Linked DNA regions of Homo sapiens: region 1 is linked to region 2. The links are contacts of gene promoters, found by promoter capture Hi-C in human tissues and cell types (Jung and others, 2019). All regions are on one chromosome and are shown on one strand. The core of a region is centred on a gene start or on the middle of the fragment in contact, and the rest is flanking DNA. Distances in the headings are between cores, read along the strand shown. Region 1 overlaps STAT5A (signal transducer and activator of transcription 5A). Region 2 holds the start of MLX (MAX dimerization protein MLX).

The links. Contacts are between HindIII fragments. The study calls those that stand out against the background at their distance.
Region 1: a fragment that was not itself captured here is called in contact with the fragment with the promoter of MLX in region 2 in 1 of the 25 tissues and cell types used here (IMR-90 fibroblasts).

What each region holds. Positions count from the first base shown.
Region 1 is chr17:42,304,599-42,308,354 of GRCh38, forward strand. STAT5A (signal transducer and activator of transcription 5A) reads left to right here. Exons shown (of 19, transcript NM_001288718.2): 11 at 1-54; 12 at 1,012-1,104; 13 at 1,643-1,849; 14 at 2,804-2,898; 15 at 2,995-3,125; 16 at 3,580-3,735. Among named protein-coding and RNA genes, the nearest start is that of STAT5A, 18 kb to the left of the region's middle. The HindIII fragment of the contact is 6,096 bases long and covers 1-3,756 here.
Region 2 is chr17:42,565,850-42,569,773 of GRCh38, forward strand. It overlaps MLX (MAX dimerization protein MLX), which reads left to right and starts at 1,251. Exons shown (of 8, transcript NM_198204.2): 1 at 1,251-1,317; 2 at 1,770-1,806; 3 at 2,621-2,710; 4 at 2,988-3,094; 5 at 3,355-3,454; 6 at 3,658-3,757. The coding sequence starts at 1,276. COASY (Coenzyme A synthase) reads left to right here. Exons shown (of 9, transcript NM_025233.7): 9 at 57-428. The coding sequence ends at 119. RefSeq lists enhancers at 1-9, 10-516, 723-772, 1,530-2,037, 1,913-2,002 and a silencer at 1,113-1,512. The HindIII fragment of the contact is 10,895 bases long and covers 1-3,924 here.

The DNA of each region.
Region 1 (3,756 bases), core at 34-2,533, 260 kb before region 2:
CTGTTTGAGTCTCAGTTCAGTGTTGGCAGCAATGAGCTTGTGTTCCAGGTGAAGGTGAGACCCCCAGCCCTCCTGCCCCCACTGCTCCAGGTCACCCAAGAGGTGGAGGGGCCTGCCTCAGGACTCCTGGCAGCAATGCCATCGGACAGCCTGCTTTGACTCTGTGGGTCCCTGTTTGATAGGTTATAATCTGGGACTAACCCAGACAATTTAGGCAATGGGCTAAGAAGAAGTCGGTTGTAGTTTTTGTTTGTTTGCTTGTGCCTACATTTTGCTGGGAGGGGCTTGTGTTTGGAACTGTGGGTGAGGAAAGTGGGTTGGGACCAGGTGTGGTGGCTCTCACCTGTAATTCCAGCATTTTGGGAGGCAGAAGAGGGAGGACTGCTTGAGTCCAGGAGTTCAAGACTAGCCTGGGCAGCATAGTGAGAACCCGTATCTACAAAAAAAAGAAAAAAGTTGGGCATGGTGGCCTGCACCTGTAGTCCCAGCTATTCTGGAGGCTGAGGCAGGAGGATCACTTGAGCCCAGGAGGTCAAGGCTGCAGTGAGCTGTGATTGCACCACTGCCCTCCAGTCTGGGCGACCGAGCGAGACCCTGTCTCGAAGAAAATAAAGCAGATTGCGGCCATGGGTGGTGGGTCTTGCCTGTAATCCCAGCACTTTGGGAGGCCAAGGAGGGTGGATCACCTGAGGTCAGGGGTTCGAGATCAACCTGACCAACATGGAGAAACCCCGTCTCTACTAAAAATACAAAATTAGCCAGGTGTGGTGACACATGCCTGTAATCCCAGCTACTTGGGAAGCTGAGGCAGGAGAATCGCTTGAACCCGGGAGGCAGAGGTTGTGGTGAGCCGAGATTGCACCATTGCACTCCAGCCTGGGCAACAAGAGTGAAACTCCATATCAAAAAAAAAAATACATAAAAAAAAATAAAGCAGATTGGGCATGTTGCCTAAGCAGAGGGCACGTGGTGGTCACGCCCCATCAACTTGGGTTCCTTTGACTCCTGTAGACTCTGTCCCTACCTGTGGTTGTCATCGTCCACGGCAGCCAGGACCACAATGCCACGGCTACTGTGCTGTGGGACAATGCCTTTGCTGAGCCGGTGAGTCCCCGTGGGAGCCCTACCCCAGCACCCCCAGGCCCTAGGACTCACCTGGGGTCAGCCCCACCCCTTGGGCCCCTGCTGAGTGGTCCTTCCTCACCCCAGGGCCAGCCCAGAGGTGAGGTGAGGCCAGAAGGGCTGGGGTGCTGGGCGCCTGCCTTCCACCATGGCCTTGGCACTCTGGGTTCCAGGTTCCTGGACTGGGGTCTGTGAGGACTGTGAGCTTGGTCTTTGGATCCTGGTCTGGGATCCTCCTTTGGCAGATGGCTTGGGTCCTTGCTCTCTGTTTTCTGTTTCCTGGTCTGCATCTCTGTCCCTGCATGCCCCCACCCCCTGCATCGGTTTTCTTCCCTGCAGGCTGGGAAAAAAAGTGCAAGCTAGTATATAAAAGCCGCCGCATTTCCTGCCCTTGCATTTGTGTCACCTTTCTGGATCTGTCTCAGTCTCCTCTGTCTCTAGGTGTCTGTGTATCTTGTGTGTGTGTGAATATTTCCAACTCCCTCAATCTACCTTTTCCCCTCTCTTGTCTCCCTCTCAGGGCAGGGTGCCATTTGCCGTGCCTGACAAAGTGCTGTGGCCGCAGCTGTGTGAGGCGCTCAACATGAAATTCAAGGCCGAAGTGCAGAGCAACCGGGGCCTGACCAAGGAGAACCTCGTGTTCCTGGCGCAGAAACTGTTCAACAACAGCAGCAGCCACCTGGAGGACTACAGTGGCCTGTCCGTGTCCTGGTCCCAGTTCAACAGGGTGAGGGGCCCAGCTGCCAGCCGCCCACCAGGGCCCACCGGGGTCTGTTGCTCCTCCACCTCACAGACAGGTTACTGCCTGGGGCTAGCACCCCACTCTCCACCCCCAACCACTCTCTCCTACAACCAGGAGAGATGGGGGCCCCTAGCCTCAAGAAATGCAGGCAGGGGCTATAGGAGTTGTGCTTAGTTGTGAAGCCAAGAGCGAGATGACGGAGGGCCCAGGGCTGGGAGTCAGGATCCTTGGGTTCTGGGCCTAGATGTGTTTGCTAATTTTCTTTTTTTTTTTTAGAGACAGAATCTCATTCTGTCACCCAGGCTGGAGTGCAGTGGCGTGATTTCAGCTTACTGTAACCTCTGCCTCCCGGGTTCAAGTGATTCTCGTGCCTCAGCCTCCTGAGTAGCTGGAATTATAGGTGCCTGCCACCATGCTGGGCTAATTTTTGTATTTTTAGTAGAGATGGGGTTTCACCATGTTGGTCAGGCTGGTCTCGAACTCCTGACCTCAGGTGATCCGCCCACCTCGGCCTCCCAAAGTGCTGGGATTACAGGCGTGAGCCACCACGCCTGTGGCTCTGGCTCTCCTTCTGCCTCTCTCCTTGCTAATTTTTGAAGACCCATCCATTCTCTGTGCCTCAGTTTCCCCACCTGTAAAATGAGGGGATGACTTTGGAGGAATGACTTTGGAGGCCCCATCCAGCCTAGATTATTCTTTACACCTCTTACTCCCACCCTTGGGCTGGTCTTGGACCCCTGTGTCTTAGAAGTGAGTTTCCTCTCTGTTTTCCTAGGGTACAAGTTGGGGGCTGTGTCACTTTATGGTCTGCTGGAGTGTGGTGGCAAGCAGGGGTGAAGAACTGGGAGAAGACTGGGTGGGGGCAGGAGGGCCCTGACTTTCCTGGGCCACCTGTGACCTGGGGCACCAGCCCTGACTCGGGGGTTCCTGGGCCCTCAGGAGAACTTGCCGGGCTGGAACTACACCTTCTGGCAGTGGTTTGACGGGGTGATGGAGGTGTTGAAGAAGCACCACAAGCCCCACTGGAATGATGGGTAAGGAACGGGGGCTGCAGGGTCAGGGGCCAGCTGTGGGCGCAGAGAGACTGTGGCTGTGGCCCAGTGGTGACGCTCAATGCTCCGTGCACCCAGGGCCATCCTAGGTTTTGTGAATAAGCAACAGGCCCACGACCTGCTCATCAACAAGCCCGACGGGACCTTCTTGTTGCGCTTTAGTGACTCAGAAATCGGGGGCATCACCATCGCCTGGAAGTTTGACTCCCGTGAGTGCCCGTTTTGCCCACACTCCAGCCCCAAGGCCCGGTCTCTTGTTCCCTTGCCCCGCCACCCCACCCTCCATCGGGCCTGTGTCCTTAGAAGGTACCCAGCGGGAAGCTTAGTATGAGAGGGCTGTGGCTTGGAAATGTATTCTCTTTCTATTGTTTTCCATTTTGGAGAACCTGAAGTCCCCAGCCCCATAGACTCCAGGACGGCTGGGCGAGTCCTCCTGCAGTTTCACGCTCTCCCCTCTCTGCCACGACCCAGCCTTGTTGGTATCTGCTCATCTGGTTTGCTGAGTAGAACATCCCGCATCGGCTTTCTTCCCTACAGGCTGGGGCTGCAGCGCAAGCTACTATATAAAAGCCCAGATTTCTCTTGCAAGCCTGCCCTAAAGCCCCACAACCTTGGTCCTCCTGCTGCTGGTGGATTATGGGAATGAGGCTGTTCTTTTCACAGCGGAACGCAACCTGTGGAACCTGAAACCATTCACCACGCGGGATTTCTCCATCAGGTCCCTGGCTGACCGGCTGGGGGACCTGAGCTATCTCATCTATGTGTTTCCTGACCGCCCCAAGGATGAGGTCTTCTCCAAGTACTACACTCCTGTGCTGGGTGGGTACTGCCCCAGGACCC
Region 2 (3,924 bases), core at 1-2,500:
GTGGGTACTGCCTGACCCTGCCCTCTCTTCCTCCCAACATCCTGGCCTGTCTGAAGGTGGAGAAAGCCTGGGCCCTCTTGCAGAAGCGCATTCCCAAGACTCATCAGGCCCTCGACTGAAAAGTTCTCAGTGGGGCCAGACTGGCTCCTGGAGCTGACAAGCGACCCCGTGGTGAGGAGAAATGGGGGCCTTGATGCTCACCCTGGTTCAGGCCCAGAGGTCCAAGCTATACTGTGCAGGACATGGCCAGGCCTGGTGGACACAGGAAGCCTACCCAACACGCTGGTATTTGGCCAACACTGAGGATGTGGTTCATGGGGGAGCAGTCCCCTCCCCACTCTTGCCCATGGGTGACTCTTACCCACAGCTGACTAGGGCCAGCGCAAATACTGGAACCTGTAACAGAATTAAAGGTGAATGTTCTGAGATGTTGCTTGTATGGTGTCTGCTTCCTGTTCCAATGCCCCTAAGTATCTTTGGGATCCTTAAGCCACAAGTGCAGGGCCCAGGCCTGAGCTGGAAGCCTGGGCAATGCAGTGGTTAAGAGAATGGCCTTTGAGGCTAGCCAGAGGCGAGCTTTGGCCCTCCCACTGACCAGCTGTGTTCTTCTGAGTAAGGTGTAGACTTTCTAGGTACTGCCGTGTTTTATTGTTTTTGTTTTGTTTTTAATATGAGAGGCCGCATAACCTAGCTAGCAGGTTCTTTGCAAGGGTTCATTCCACATGCATCCTGCCAGACACTGGGCTGGGTGTTGGAAGATCAGCCTTCCGCGCGCCAGGCGGGGCCTCTGCCCTCACAGAGCTTGCAGCCTGGTGGGGTCGGACGATGTGGCTGGGGGCTTCTCTGCCCGGTTCCTGACACACCGGCCAGCAGTGCAGGTCCGGTGAGCGCGGGGAGGCCGCCCTCAGGGTAACGTGGGGAGCCGGCCGGCCGGACAGTGCGCGTGCACACACTATCTGCGGCGGTGTGCTGACAAGCCAATTGAGGGGACTCCATCTTACAAAACGCGCTTCATGTCGCCGCCATTCCACTGCCTAACCCGGGGAGGGCAGGCACGGCGGGGAGCAGTCTCGAAGGAGGCTGGCGCCAGGCCAAGCGCCGGGCCTTGACGGCTGGAACCGTGGAGTAAAGTCTTTGGGCTGCGCATGCGCGATGCTTCGCCCTGCCCCACCTCTCGGTCGCGGATTGGCGGGCGCGGGTCACGTGGGCACGCCACCCGCTTCCTCGCCGCAGGGGGCCCGCCCGCTGGCCCGTTTCCGGTCCGGTGGGTACAAGATGACGGAGCCGGGCGCCTCTCCCGAGGACCCTTGGGTCAAGGCAAGCCCCGTGGGCGCGCACGCCGGCGAGGGGAGGGCGGGTCGGGCTCGTGCACGTAGGGGGGCCGGAAGACGAGGGGCTTCCCTCCTGTCCCCAAAGTCCCCCACGCTCTCCGTGCCCCGGGGCTGCAGAGAAGACAGCTCTCACCCCGCGTGTGCCAAGGTGGGGAGACAAACGAGGCGTGTGCGCGCGAGTCGGGGGAACGGGGCACTGGGGTGGAGTAGGGGCGGAAGGGATCATACACAGGGGAGGCACTCGCACGCCCTAGCCTGTGCCAGTCTCGGGGGACTCATTAAGCTGCCCGCGCACCCCGGGCTGTGTGTGTGCAAGCGCGCAGGGTGACAGAGGCGCCTTCCCGGAATGGGGGGCGCGCTGTGCGTGCCTGCAGTGGAAGGGGCGCCTCCCCCTAGGGGCGGAGGTCTGACGGGCCCTTCCCGTGCTCTGTGCCGCAGGTGGAGTATGCCTACAGCGACAACAGCCTGGACCCCGGTGAGTAGCTGCCCCATCTTAAGCTCTAGAGGGACACTCCCGCCCAGGCTCTCTAGATTCTTGTGGCGTTGCCAACCACGCCTGAGCACAGTCCACTCTCCCTGAGCAGAGTTCCTGGCTTGAGACAGCAGGAGCTGAAGGACAAGGGCAGAAAACAACTGAGGGTGACACCTAGTTCCCTCTGCTCTGGAACAGGGAAGTGGTGGAACTGATCACTCACCACTCAGTGGAGCAGCTGATCACTCACACCCTCATCACGTCCACATGCCCGTTTGTGAGCCAGGGGGGTATCATGCAGGCCTATGGAGCAGTGTAGACACTAGGGAGCAGAGCACTGCAGCGTGGTCTGGCAGGAAGTGGGGGGCCCAGTATGGTTGGCTTTGGGTTGAAGGGAAGAGGTCAGCATTTAAGAAAGCCATTGTGTGGCCGGGCGCGGTGGCTCACCCCTGTAATCCCAGCACTTTGGGAGGCCGAGGCAGGCGGATCACGAGGTCAGGAGACCGAGACCATCCTGGCTAACACGGTGAAACCCCGTCTCCACTAAAAAATACAAAAAAATTAGCCGGGCGTGGTGGCGGGCGCCTGTAGTCCCAGCTACTCGGGAGGCTGAGGCAGGAGAATGGCGTGAACCTGGGAGGCGGAGCTTGCAGTGAGCCGAGATCGCGCCACTGCACTCTAGCCTGGGCGACTGAGCGAGACTCTGTCTAAAAAAAAAATAAATAAATAAAAGAAAGCCATTGTGTCCTACAGGTGTCTGAGGGTCTGGCAATGTTCCCCACCCCACCCCTTAGTGATTGGGGCCTCTCTTTTCCAGGGCTTTTTGTAGAAAGCACCCGCAAGGGGAGTGTAGTGTCCAGAGCTAATAGCATCGGTTCCACCAGTGCCTCTTCTGTCCCCAACACAGGTAGGCAGTAACATCCCCCCCGACCTCGGGGGGCTCAGATATGTCATAATTGTAGTACCTTTCCTAGACAGGGAAGCCCCAGCCATCCACACAGGGGTGCTGGAGCCAAAGTATCAGACACAAGGTCTCACCATCTTTCACCTCATCTGGAACATTAGGTGGTTCTGTCCATCTGCCTTCTCTGGACACCAGGTTCTTCCCAGCTGGGGAAAGGTGGGCTAGCTGGACCCCACTGGGCCCCAAGATGACCTTTCCCTGCCCCCATCTCTGAGCGTAGATGATGAGGACAGTGATTACCACCAGGAGGCCTACAAGGAGTCCTACAAAGACCGGCGGCGGCGCGCACACACTCAGGCTGAGCAGAAGAGGAGGGACGCCATCAAGGTGAACAGGGAGGCCTGTGCCTCAGCCAGTGCGGGAGGGCCCTGCATAGTTTAGCTTCCCTGTGCCCTGACCCACTCAGACAGTCCCAGGCACCCTAGGGGGTGGGCAGGTAGTATAGTCCCAGGCACAAACACCTCCCTTGCAGCCTTCCCACCCCATTGAGTTTGTGAGCATAGAACTTGGTGTCATGGAGGAACTTTGTGCCATTTTGCTTTAATCTCTCAGGGTTAAAGAACCCATTTCCCCTGCTGTTTCCACAGAGAGGCTATGATGACCTTCAGACCATCGTCCCCACTTGCCAGCAGCAGGACTTCTCCATTGGCTCCCAAAAGCTCAGCAAAGCCATCGTTCTACAAAAGAGTATGGCTAGGGAAAGCACTGGAGGGGATGGAGCCAAGCGGGGCTGTGAAGAGGCCAGTGCCTCCTACCCACCCATGGCTCGGCCTTGGTGTGGTGATTGCCATGGGATAGTTGGGGTCTGGGGTAAGGGGAACAAAGTCAGCCTTATCTTCTTGGTTGAGAATACTTCTGTACCTGTCCTTTTTTTCTTGCCCCCACCCTAGCCATTGACTACATTCAGTTTTTGCACAAGGAGAAGAAAAAGCAGGAGGAGGAGGTGTCCACGTTACGCAAGGATGTCACCGCCCTAAAGATCATGAAAGTGTAAGAGGGGTGCTGAATGGGGGGAACCAGAACTTCTGAGGCAACTTCATTGCACACCCTCCCTTGTTCAAAGGCCACATCAGTTACTGCTGTACAGATAATACTCTTAGTTCCTGAGCTAGCCAGTAGGACTGTGTATCCCCAACTGTCCTTACACATGGCAGACA